Regions from separate parts of the Homo sapiens genome. Here region 2 is linked to region 1. The links are contacts of gene promoters, found by promoter capture Hi-C in human tissues and cell types (Jung and others, 2019). All regions are on one chromosome and are shown on one strand. Each heading gives the region's core, a stretch centred on a gene start or on the middle of the fragment in contact. The rest is flanking DNA. Distances are from core to core; before and after follow the strand shown.

Evidence for each region. Contacts are between HindIII fragments. The study calls those that stand out against the background at their distance.
Region 2: a fragment that was not itself captured here is called in contact with the fragment with the promoter of PRPS1L1 in region 1 in 2 of the 25 tissues and cell types used here (hippocampus and mesenchymal stem cells).

Annotation. Positions count from the first base shown.
Region 1 is chr7:18,023,348-18,030,293 of GRCh38, reverse strand. PRPS1L1 (phosphoribosyl pyrophosphate synthetase 1 like 1) reads left to right here and starts at 2,448. Exons shown (of 1, transcript NM_175886.3): 1 at 2,448-3,524. The coding sequence starts at 2,512. The coding sequence ends at 3,468. The HindIII fragment of the contact is 4,496 bases long and covers 1-3,322 here.
Region 2 is chr7:17,766,439-17,773,384 of GRCh38, reverse strand. No RefSeq gene overlaps it. Among named protein-coding and RNA genes, the nearest start is that of SNX13, 170 kb to the left of the region's middle. The HindIII fragment of the contact is 3,377 bases long and covers 2,026-5,402 here.

The DNA.
Region 1 (6,946 bases), core at 1,199-3,698:
TACTAATGGTTCATTTCTTTCTGGGAAAAGTTTTTGTTTTGAAAGCAAAAAACTTTCCAGTCTCATGTTTGGGATTATGTTCTTTATTGTAGTTGCTTGGTAAAAGAGAAAAAAAATGCAAATATTTTGTAGTACTTTTAAATTTTTCCTTTATTCTGATAAATCTCAAAGAAAAGGCTTGAAAGTGTATAGTTGATAAGGCCCTACTTGGAAATTCAGGAGTCCCACATTCTAATCCACACTCTGCCTCTATTTAGCTGATAGATCCCAGGCAGGTTACTTCATTTCTCTGAGCCTTAGTTCCCTGTCAGTGAAGTGTGATAATCAGACTAGGTGGTCTCTAAGGCCATATCTATCTTTAACATTTTATGACTGTAGACAAATTTCTGGAACTATAACATGTAGCAACAGCTAGAGCTTGAAACAAAAATAGCAGCAAGACAAAAATTTCTCCTCCTTAACACCTCAAGGAAAATGCAACCAAGTATGGGTTTTAAATGTTCACATTAGCATTTAATCCTATTTAGGTAATATTAAACCTGTTTAGAATCTGTTTTGTTTTTTAAACAACACTGAAAAATGTGTGACACACAGAATAGTAAGAGAAAAATAAATTGAAACTACAAATACTATTAGTGCTTCTAAATTAAGCCACGGGATTTTTAGAAATCACTTTATGTAGTCTGGCTAAGGGTGAGAATTATGTGGTATAGGTAGGTCTGTTGATTTTTTGTGTGTGTGATAAAAAGAATATGAATGAAGGGTTATGGACAGAAATGGGCTGGCATACACTGTCAACCAGGAAGAGGCTGAACTAGAGAGAAAACCATGTTGATGCCAGGAGAGAAATGATTGGATCAGCAGCAAGCCATTTTGGTGTAAAATTTAAAACATAGCTGTTTATTTGAGTTTATAATAATACCTCATTCAATATATAAAACTACCTTTTTATAGCTAAGTAATGTTTTTCACAGACATTGCTGAATCTTACCCATCTTTGTTGCCTACCCCATTTCTTATCCCATTTCTGAGTTTATCCTATTCATGAACCCAACACATTAAGGAAGCCCAGAAGTGTGGTGAGAAAATCTCTTAAATTATTTGGTTATCTTACAATATGAAAAAAATGATGATTTGGTTTTAGGCTAAATAAAAACACCCTGGTATCCAAATGTCAGGCACACAATTAGCAAGATATAAATGGTTGATCTGTATCTGATGCCTCCATTATTTTTATGAAATCATTGGCATCTATGGTCCTTTCTGCCTCCTTCCTCACTATTTCCAGCCCCGATACGCCATAGAAGCTGTATACTTAAAATTTGCTAACAAACATTTAATTACCAAATACATTTTGTTCATCATTTTTACTACAAAAGTAATAAATGTTCAAATGCCACACTGATAGCAGTAAAATGTAACAGTCCTCCTTCATTCTCAACTCTCACAACCTACTCCCCTCTCCAAAGGTAATTATTATAAAGAGGACTTCCATGCTAATTGGATGCTTTCAGTATCACATAATCTTAAATACATAAATATAATACTATGATATTTTTGTGACTGACTTTACCTTTAAAAAAATACCTAGGAGACATTTCCACATGATTACACTTAATCTATTTAATGGTCGCATATGTATATACAATAAATTATTTGGTAATTTACCTATTGATGAACATTTGTTGGTTCCCATATTTTGCTTTTATAAACAATTCTAGGGCAATTACTATTTGTCATGCACAATTTTTATACCCTAGAAGTAGTATAATACCTGACATATAGGAGGTGTTCACAAAATATTTATTGCATGAATGAATACAGCTACACTACTATGTAGCCATATATATTTGGGGTGCTTGTGAAAATTTCTCTGAAATAGATTCCTAGAAGTATACATGATGAGTCAAAGTTTATGTGCAAAATTACCCATGCAAAATCTACATATTTATACATTCCATCCGAATAGAAGACCTTATCTTAACATTTTGGCTACTTGATGTGTGAAAATAGCGTTTTCTTGATTACTTCCATTGTTTCACGTTTCTTATCCATTTTTTTTTTACTGTGATTGCCTATTTATGCCATTTTTCAACTTTCTATTTTATTGTCTTTTTCTCACTTCATTGGGGAAATTCTTTCTAAAATAATCTTTTGCATATACTTTAGTAGGTAATTTTCCTTTTAAACTTGGGTTTTGCTTTGTAGTTTTATGTTTTTATGCATTCAAATTTGTTTAAATAGCCCTGTGAAACTAATATAGGTGCTAATAGAAAAAAACTCCATACACTGTAAATACTTGATTATTTAGTCTAAAAGTGTGAAGTGGGAGGTGGCAAGCAGAAATTTTTTCAAGAGACCCAGGGTCAATTTGGGACCGCGCGCCGCAAGGGGGAAGGGACCCTAACGGTTGAGTAACAACCGGAAGCCATTAGAGTCTGTGCTTCACTTCCGTTCCAGCCTCAGCGGCAGCTGGATCGCTCGACGGAGTGCCTCTGGTAGTTGGCCAAGACGCCGAATATCAAAATCTTCAGCGGCAGCTCCCACCAGGACTTATCCCAGAAAATTGCTGACCGCCTGGGCCTGGAGCTAGGCAAGGTGGTGACTAAGAAATTCAGCAACCAGGAGACCTGCGTGGAAATTGATGAGAGTGTGCGTGGAGAGGATGTCTACATCGTTCAGAGTGGTTGTGGCGAAATCAACGACAGTCTAATGGAGCTTTTGATCATGATTAATGCCTGCAAGATTGCTTCAGCTAGCCGAGTTACTGCAGTCATCCCATGCTTCCCTTATGCCCGACAGGATAAGAAGGATAAGAGCCGGTCCCCAATCTCTGCCAAGCTTGTTGCAAATATGCTCTCTATAGCAGGTGCGGATCATATCATCACCATGGACCTACATGCTTCTCAAATTCAGGGCTTTTTTGATATCCCAGTAGACAACTTGTATGCAGAGCCAACTGTCCTGAAGTGGATAAGGGAGAATATCCCTGAGTGGAAGAACTGCATTATTGTCTCGCCAGATGCTGGTGGAGCTAAAAGAGTGACCTCCATTGCAGACCAGTTGAATGTGGACTTTGCTTTGATTCATAAAGAACGGAAGAAGGCCAATGAAGTGGACTGCATAGTGCTAGTGGGAGATGTGAATGATCGTGTGGCTATCCTTGTAGATGACATGGCAGACACTTGTGTTACAATCTGCCTCGCAGCTGACAAACTTCTCTCAGCTGGAGCAACCAGAGTTTATGCTATCTTGACTCATGGAATCTTTTCTGGCCCAGCCATTTCTCGCATCAACACTGCATGCTTTGAAGCAGTGGTAGTCACCAATACCATACCTCAAGATGAGAAGATGAAGCATTGCTCCAAAATACGAGTAATTGACATCTCCATGATCCTTGCAGAAGCCATAAGGAGAACTCATAATGGGGAATCTGTTTCCTACCTGTTCAGCCATGTTCCTTTATAACAGAATAACTTCTAGGTTATGCTATTTTAAAATAAAATAAGATTAATAAAAACAAACCTTGCCTTTATTTTTTCTTAGGTTTGATTAAAAGTTCAGCAGAAGATCCAGCTTGCTCCAGTGTAACTTTCTACATCCCACATCAGGTATATAAGAGTTTACCTTAAATTAGGGAAAAACAGGTTAAGAATAATCACTAGGATTTCCTGACTGGGTTGTCTCATCTGGCTTCTTTGATGATTTTGTTAGCCCAGCAGCTTTAACTACAGCCCTTCTGCTGCAAAGATTTCAGACTTCTGAGGGTGTTTTGTAGAGGTGTTTGAAAGTGGTTGGAAAGCTTACATGTAAATGCTTCGGAGTTTTCTTTTTTCAGAACAACTAGCAATAAAGCCACCCAATCTACCCCCTGCCCCAAACCCCCACTTTGTGTCACAAATTCTCCAAGTTCGATGCTCAGTTGCAGCAAGAGCCCTGAGCCACCACAAAATTAATTCTGGTTGCTGAACACCCTCAACAGCAGGAATAGGCAACTTTCAGCTTGAGCAGCCATTGGGATCTTGAGAGGAAGCAACAAGTACAGTAAATGCTTCTTGAGAGGAGGAAGATTGATCTGTCACCATCTATTTGGACACTATCTATCTTGGATTCTCAGTTATACCTGTTCCTTTTGATTTAGCTTTACCTCCACCCATCTTGACCTTTTCATTGCTAAATATCCTACTGGGCCCCAAATGGTCAGGGTACCATAGTCTTCTGGAAGGCAAACCCACTTTTTGCTATGTAATCTCTAATATTTATATTAGTTATTTTTGCTGTAACTTAATCTTCCTTAGTTTATTACCACCATTGTAGTAGATGTTAGGTGACATTGTAGTGACTTTTGTTAAATTTAAACATTTAATTTTTATCTCCCTTCCTTGTATTTTGTTGGCCCCTCAAATGACCTCAGATTTATATTTTTAAAATGTTGTTATTGTCCTTTTTAGGGAAAACCAATAAAATATCTGCATATATGTGTGGGGTGGAGAGGGGTGGTGCAGAGCACCATACCTAGATTTATCATGTGAAATTTCTGATCTCCAAGAAAAAATCACTAAGAATTTCTAAAGAGTAAAACAAAAACAAGAAAGTTTTAAAGAAACAATATTCAGATTGCTTTAAATTTTTCATTTGAACGCTTGGGCTGTAAGCAAAATGGAATAATTTCCTCACAGTTCTAAAGGAATATTATTTTTCACCTAAATTTCTGTGCTTAGCCAAACTATCATTGACATATGAAGACAATATTAAGGGACTCAGAAACTACTACCACTAGTGTTTCCTGAAAGTACTTCTTGGAGATACTGAAAACAAAAAATATATACAGCCAAGAAGAACACATAGAATAAAAGAGATGGTGGTAAGCAAAAAAAGAAGTGACACTGACAGAAAAATAATTTTTATGAAGTTACTGTAAAGATTATGGCCGTTATTAAGGTAAAACTCACATAAAATTGGGCCACATCATGAAGCAATTTTGAGGCTGGGAGGAGTTAGGGTTAGTGTAAATTTATTAAGGATCTTGTCTAGTTTTGGATGGAGGTTATTAACAACAATCATTCACATTATAGAAAAACCTGAGTTTAAATAAGGTATTTTCTAAAATTCAAGGGCAAGGAGCAAGCCAGAGAAGAAAAGAATGGGATAAATAACTTCCAAACTCCTAGAAAGAAAAAGAAGGTGGAGCAGGGGGGTGGGGGGGAATAAGCAAAACTCAACAAATTGAGCTGAAGATAGGAAATAAAGAAAGAAAACATAGCAAAGATAAAGTACCCAATATATACTATCACAAAAGTCAATAGGTTAATTTTGTAAAAGATACATTATTAGATTGGGTAGCTAAAATACCTAATAATATGCTATTTATAGGACACACATCTAAAAAGTTTGGTATAAAGAGATAGAGAAAATATACAAAGTAAATGGTAACAAAAAGAAACAAGCAATGATAGATTTAGTCAAAACAAAAGTGGAATGTGCTTTGCTGATTAAACCCACCAATAAGTTATAATCATCATGAATCTTTATCTACCTAACAACTCAACATGGAAATAGAAAAAGAAAAGTGAATCAGCGAGAATATAAGAAGAAATGGAAACGCACAATCATCATAATCAAAGAAGGAAATTTTGATAAAACTCTCATAAGTTATCAAGAAAAGGTATTATAGGGTTTAAATGACTCCATTATCACAACTTAATATAGAAATTAAACATAATTTACATTTCAAGTATGCATGAAGCAAATATAACAGGTTTCACAGGTTTTAAAGATTTTTTAAAAAGAAAAAATACATAATAGGTCATAAAAAGTCTTAATAAATTTCTTAAAGAAATGTATGTAGACTATATATAGTATAGTAGCATTACTACTATCATCTTAACAATATTATGAAAAAATAAAACTATCAGTAAAATAGGAATAGAACAAACCTTGCTTGACCTGCTAGAGAAAATCTGGTATAGACCTAATTAAGGACATACTTAATGATGAAACATTGAAAACATTCCCATTAAATTTCTAAACCAATGGGAAAGAGGCAAGGAAAAAAAGAGAGGTATCAATACCAGAAGGAAAGAGCCAAAACTTTCATTATTTGAAGATGTCATGATTGCCAACAAAAAATCCAACAATCAAAAGAAAAACTCAGAATTCATAAGAGAGGTCAGTAAAGTGAAAGTATGTAAGATAAAATGACATCTTTCCTAAATACCAGTAAAATATAATTTTAAAACATAATTGAAAGAAATGTTTCCACAGCCTAAAACAATAAAATCTACAACATGACCAGTAATAAATCCCAAAACTGTAGGATTTGTATGAAAAAATGTTGCCAAAGGATATAGAAAATACCTGAATAAGTACATTATAAACTTGGATAGGAAGAACAATATTGCAAACATGATAGTTTCCTATCAAGTCAGTGTGAACCTAATCAAAATCTTAAAGGGATTTTTTTTTTTTTTTTTTTTGTCAGAGTCTCCCTCTGTCACCCAAGCTGGAGGGTAGTGGCCCAATCTTGGCTCACTGCACCTCCGCCTCCTGGGTTCAAGTGATTCCCCTGCGTCAGCCTCCCCACTAGCTGGGATTATAGGTGTCTGCTATGACGCCCTGCTAATTTTTGTATTTTTTTTTTTCAGTAGAAACGGGATTTCACCATGTTGGCCTTGCTGGTCTTCAACTCTTGACCTCAAGCGGTCTGTCCTTCTCGGCCTCCCAAAGTGCTGAGATTATAGGTGTGAGGCACTGTACCTGGCCAAAGGGATTTTTAAGATAAGAGAATTTGACACAAGCTTATTTTAAAGTTCATCTGGAAAAGTAAATAAGCAAAAATATTCAACATCTTTTCTGTGTCACAATACATTAAAACATTTCAAAGCTACAGTGATTAAAATGTGGTATTGATGCAGGAATGGACACATAAATTAATATTGCAGAATGT
Region 2 (6,946 bases), core at 2,465-4,964, 260 kb after region 1:
AATTTATGAATCATCTAGTACAAGAGAGTTACTTCAGACTATGACAAACCAATCAGTGCTATTGTGGTGAAAGTTTCTAGCTTCCTTAAGTCTTTCTAATAAGCTAAGGCTCATTAACAGATAATCCTCTGGCAATAAATTGGAAAATAACAATAAAAGGACAGTTGTTTTATACTGTTCAGCTAGTTCTTGAAGAGATTGGTTTCTAAAATACACAGTCTTTAAAACTGTCCACAGAGTAGGATAGTTAAGCTTTTGAGATTGTTGGAGAACAGAGCCTGCTATTCTCTTGGAATATCTTTCATCAGCAGGTGCTGTTTCTTTTTCTTTTCAAGACATTAAAAGATCAAAGAAGTATGAAATGTGCCCTAAGGCAGCTGAGCTGCTAATCATACACATAAAAATGAAACTGTGATGGGGGTTGTGAACAAACGCCTTTTGGCACCTGCTTTTGTCATCTTGGTTTGTTTTTCTTCCCACAGCATTTTACACCTCCTAATTTAATTTGTGTCGGGGGGGGCCCCCCTTCTTCCAGCTGTTCAGACCTAGAGGGCACAAACACACTTTCCAGCTGTGGTTATTGCAGCTTAACATGGAGCAGGGATTGAGCCAAGAGCACTGGCCAAATCATATTCAGGCCTTGAGGTCTAGCGCTCACACCGCCTTATCCACTGTGAGCTGCTAACTTGAGACTGTGAGTCTGATAGGGAGTCTGCAAAGTTCAAACACTGTCAGGAAGTTTATCCTATTCAAACAGTGCTTTCAAGGGGACTTAGAGGGACATTGGCTCAGAGTGGCCCATGTAGGAGCTTTGCAATATGAAAAGGAATTTTGGTTGGAGTAGCTCCTGTGACATTCTCGCCATACTCCATTGAATTTGTGCCAGTCCACCTCTCCATTCTCAGGAGAGTCAAGCTGCTGTTTTGATATGCTTTCTAGGGAATATAGGCAGATCCTGGGTGCCAACAGCAGGCACACACACCAAGCTAGGAGTATGAAAAATTAGAAAGTTTGCTTTTGGTTCTGCACTTTAACACAATGGCAATAATATGAACAGACAGTGGTAGTATGCTTTCTCTTTGGACCACAGACAATGGGAATTTAACCTTAATCCTCAGTCCTGCTGCTTTCCAAAGGAAGATGAAAGGTAGTTGCAGAGTTGAGCAGACAGAATGATACGAATTTGAAAATCTCAGCAGGTGTGGGGCTCAGTGCGCTATCCTCAGGGACAGTGCTTCTCTAGATCTGTTTTCTGCTGAAGCCATCACTGTAAAACTACTGTTCATTATTTCTGTAACTTCCCCAGGACGATAAGGGATGTCAGCAATAACATGGTACATTAAACAGACCATAAATTTATCTCCAGGACTAAAATAATACTTGAGTGCAAAAATAAATGGATCTGGCTGCCTCATAAACTAAAAACTTAGTACCCAAAGGGACAAAATAAGCCCAGAAATAATTCAAAATACATAAGAAAATTCACTTCATGATAGAAGGACATCTGAAATTAGTGGGGCAAAGAGGGCAATTTAATAATGGATGTTGCGACAAATAATGAGCTTGTTCATACCTTACCTGTGTATCACAGTAAACTTAAAATACATTAAAAATCACACATTTAGAAAGAAATCCTGAAAGCACCAGAAGAAAGTATTAGGATAATTACTTTTTATCCTTGAAGTGGAGAAGGTCTAATGATGACTCAAAATCCAAAAACCATGAAATAAATAACGCAAGTACATAAAATTAAAGATAACTTTTGCATAGTAAATTATACCATAAGTACCTAAAAAGTTAAATGAAAAATTGGGAAAATTTTTTAACTCATGTAACAAAGACTAAATTCCTAATACATACAGATCCAAAATTCAATTTGAAAAAAGATTTATTTTAAACATAAAGTCAGCATATTATACACATTCTGACCCTTGCCTTTCAGCTCAGTGAAAGCTTCTTAGTTTTTCACAGCTGCGTTTCATTGGGGGAATCATAATTTCTTTAACCATTCCCCTAGTGATGAATATATGAGTTTGTTTTTCCAAATCTTCTGCCATTAAATCATTTTTCAAAAAGAAGAATTATAATGTTCAAAAGCTTAGACTCTGAAATCTGGTTGCCTGTGGGTTCGAGTTTTGGCTCTGTCAATTTCAAGCTACTTAACCTTGGGCAAGTCTTAACCTGTCTGTTTCCTCATTTGTATAAGAGATTTGAAGTTAATAGAATCAACAACAGGAGACAGTTGTGAGGATTCAGGGTGCTAATATGTAGGTAAAGGACTTAGACTAGTACCTGGAGCACAGTAAGTCCTCTGAAAGTGTTAGCTGTTATTACCACTATGTGCCAAATGGTAGAAATTGGACTAACTTTATAAACTTCTGCTTTTATAATGTTTAGGACTCATGGTAAGAGAGGCAGAACTTAAAGGGCAGATGCTGTCTCTTAATGGCAAAAAGGGAAGTCCAATGGTGAGGCAATAACTGTTTCTTGCTGTTTAATGAACAGCTGCTTAAAAATGCAGCATGTCAGTCACCAGCGTAGACATCAGTAAATGAAAGGAGTGGCTTTGAAACGTGAATTTTATTAAGTATAGCAGGAGATTCTGCTGCAGATAGACCCAGAAGACATTTTGAGAAAATAATACTATCCCCTGGGTGAACGATACTCAAACTGTAACTATAGTGCCTTAGAGAAATTGATCAGGTTCAAGCTTCATGGACGTTAAGCCATAGTTTAGATATTTAAAAACATCATAGACCAGCCCAGGGAAGAAAATTTCAATGAAGTATCAGAATGTATGATGTTAACTTTATCAAGTCATTATTACTTCATAACTACCTTCTGGGTATGTTGCTTGTTAGTGTTTTGCATTCTAATTTATACTGTAGGTCCTGAGGTCTGGAAGCTTGATTTCTAGTTTGTCCCCTAAGTCCAGGACATATTCTCTTAACACATTTTGTTAAACACATTTTAATGCTCTCTAAACACATTTTTACGTCATTTAGAGCTACTAAAGATAGAGGGAAGTTCTAATGCTTGCTTCAAGATTTTTTGTAGCCCTGTGAGATCGAGATTGGTGGTATAAAAGAAATAGTACAAGCTTTATAGTCAGTCAAATCCCAGCCCATCAATTACTAAACTGGGAAATGTTGGGAAAGTTATTAAACTTAGAAAATCAGTTTCCTCTTTTATATCATGGTGGTAATACTGTACTCTATTCCCACAGTTATTCTAGAGAATAGAGATAATGCCCATAAAGAGGAAGCCACGCAGCAGGTTTTCAATGAATGGCAGTATTATTTGATTAAAGCTGTCTTTTCTAGGGACTTCTCTTCTTGTTGTCTGATGCCCCCTCCTGGACAGTCCAGAACCTGAGCTGAGCAACTGTCAACATCACTTGCTTGAAACTAAAGGTCATGAGGTATGCAGAAGCAGTGTTTTAGGAAGAGTCTGAAATCAAAGCCAGAGCCAGTCCAACCAAGGGGCAAATCCAGAGGGTATGGTAGAGGTGGAAACCAGAGAAATTAGATGAGGGTGGAGGTGGAAGCCTGGAGGAATTGTCTGAATGACAATATAAGATATTACTTCCCACTGATAGTTACATGCCCAGAATTTACATACATTATCCCAGTTAATCTTCACCAAAATCTCATAGGACAGTGGTCCCCAACCTTTTTGGCACCAGTGACTGTTTACGTGGAAGACAACTTTTCCACAAATGGCTGCGAGTGGGATGGTTTTGAGATGAAAGTGTTCCACCTCTGATCATTGGGCATTAGTCAGACTCTCATAAGGAGCACAACCTAGATCCCTCACATGCACAGTTCACAACAGGATTCATGCTCCTATGAGAATCTAATGCCACTGCTAATCTTACAGAATGCGAGGCCAGGTGCGGTGGCTCACACCTGTAATCCCAGCACTTTGGGAGGCCGAGGTGGGCGGATCACCTGAGGCCAGGACTTTGAGACCAGCCTGACCAACATGGCGAAACCCTGTCTCTACTAAAAATATGAAAATTAGCCCGGTGTGGTGGCGTGCGCCTGTAATCCCAGCTACTTGGCAGCCTGAGGCATGAGAATCACTTGAACCTGGGAGGCAGAGGTTGCAGTGAGCCAAGATCGCACCACTGCAGTCCAGCCTGGGCAACACAGTGAGACTTTGTTTCAAAAAACAAAACAAACAAACAAACAAACAGAAAGTGGAGTTCAGGTGATAATGCTTGCTCACCCACTGCTCACCTCCTGCTGCACAGCCTGGTTCCTAACAGGCCACAGACCAGTACCGTTGATGGCCCAGGGATTGGGGGCCCCTGCTGTAAAACATAGGAGTAAATATTAATAAATTTTGATTAAGCAATAGCTTCTTACATGTGACACCAAAAACACAAAGAACCAAAGAAAAAAATAGATACATTAGACTTTATCAAAATTAAAATTAAAAATTTTGTGTTTCAAAGAGCACTATCTAGAAAGTGAAAAAACAACCCACAGGGAGAAAATATTTGTAGATTATATATCCGTTAAGAGACTTGTAACCAGAATTTCTAAATATATATATATATAAAGACTGTATAAAGAACTCTTACAACCTAATAATAAAAAGGCAAACTATTTAATTAAAAGATGGACAAAGGATCTGAATAAACATTCCTCCAAATAAGATTTACAAATAGCGTGTGAAAAAGAAGTTCAACATCATTAGTCATTAGGGAAATAAAAACCAAAGCCACAATGAGTTAGTACCTCATATTCACTAGAATGACATTAATAAAAAAGATAAAGACATGGAGAAATACAAAACTGATGGGAATGTAAAATGGTGCAGCCCCTTTAAAAAACAGTGTGGCAGCTCTTCAAAATGTTTAGCATCGAGCTACCATAATACCCAGCAGTCATGCCCAGATTTATACGCAAGGGAAATGAAAACATATATCCACACAAATTCTTGTACACGAATGTTTATAGCAGCACTATTAATAACAACCCGAAGATGGAGGCAACACAAATATCCATCAATGAATGTATAAATAAAATGTATTTATACAATGGAATTTTATTTGGTTGTAACAAGGAAAAAGTTTTAATACAGTCTACAATATGGATAGAACTTGAAAATACTATGCTAAGTGAAAGAAACTAGTCACAAAAGGCCACATAATGTATAATTTCATTTATATGAAATGACCCAACAGGGAAATTCCATGGAAACACAAAGTAGATTAGTGTTTACCAGGGGCTGCGGGAAGGAAGAGAGCTGGGGAGTGACTGCTAATGGATATGTAGTTCCTTTCTGGGGTGATGAAAACATTCTAGAATTAAATAGTGGGGATGGTTGCATAATTTTATGAATATACAGACATACCTCATTTTATTGTACTTCTTCACAAACTGAAAGTTTCTGGCAATCCTGTGTCAAGCAAGTCTTAATCATTGGCATCCTCCAATGAAATATACCTGCTTTGTGTCTCTGATTCACCTTTTGGTAATTCTTTTTAATATGTCAAACTTTTATTATAATTTTTAAATTTTATTTTAAATTTTATTTTTCCATAAGTTACTGGGGTACAGGTAGTATTTGGTTACATGAGTAAGTTCTTTAATGGTGATTTGTGAGATTTTGGTGCACCCATCACCCAAGAAGTATACACTGCACCATATTTATAATCTTTTATCCCTCGCCCCCCTCCCACCCTTCCCCCCAAGTCCCCAAAGTCCATTGTATCACTCTTATGCCTCTGCATCCTCATAGCTTAGCTCCCACATATCAGTGAGAACATACGATGTTTGGTTTCCATTCCTGAGTTACATCACTTAGAATAATAATCTCCAAGGCCAGGCGTGGTGGCTCACGCCTGTAATCCCAGCACTTTGGGAGGCCAAAGTGGGCGGATCACCTGAGGTCAGGAGTTCTAGACCAGCCTGGTCAACATGGTGAAACCCCACTTCTACTAAAAATACAAAAATCAGCCAGGTGTGGTGGTGGGCATCTGTAATCCCAGCTACTTGGGAGGCTGAGGCAGGAGAATCACTTGAATCCGGGAGGCAGAGGTTGTGGTGAGCCAAGACCACACCATTGCACTCCAGTCTGGGAAACAAGAGTGAAACTCTGTCTCAAAAAAAAAAAAAAAATAATAATAATAATAATAATAGTCTCCAATCTCATCTAGGTCACTGCAAATGCTGTTAATTAATTCCTTTTTATGGCTGTGTAGTATTCAATTGTATATATGTACCACAGTTTCTTTATCTACTCATTGATTGATGGGCATTTGGGTTGGTTCCACGATTTTGCAATTGTAACTTGTGCTGCTATAAACATTCATATGCAAGTATCTTTTTTGAATAATGACTTCTTTTCACCCAGTAGTGGGATTGCTGGGTCAAATGGTAGTTCTACTTTTAGTTATTTAAGGAACCTCCACACTGTTTTCCTTAGTGCCTGTACTAGTTTACATTCCTACCAGCAATGTGGAAGTGTTCCCTGTTCACTGCATCCGCACTAACATCTACTGTTTTTTGATTTTTTGATTATGGACGTTCTTGCAGGAGTGAGGTGGTATCACATAGTTGTTTTGATTGGCATTTCCCTGATCATTAGTGATGCTGAGCATTTTTTTGTATGTTTGTTGGCCATTTGTATATCTTCTTTTGAGAATCGTCTATTCATGTCCTTAGCCTACTTTTTGATGGGATCTTTTGTTTTTTTCTTACTGATTTGTTTGAGTTCATTGTAGATTCTGGGTATTAGTCCTTTGTCAGATGTATAGATTGTGAAGATTTTCTCCTACTCTGTGGGTTGTCTGTTTACTCTGCTGACTGTTCCTTTTGCCATGCAAAAGCTCTTTAATTATGTCCCAGCTGTTTATCTTTGTTTTTATTGCATTTGCTTCTGGGTTATTGGTCATGAAATCCGTGCCTAAGCGAATGTCTAATAGGGTTTTTTC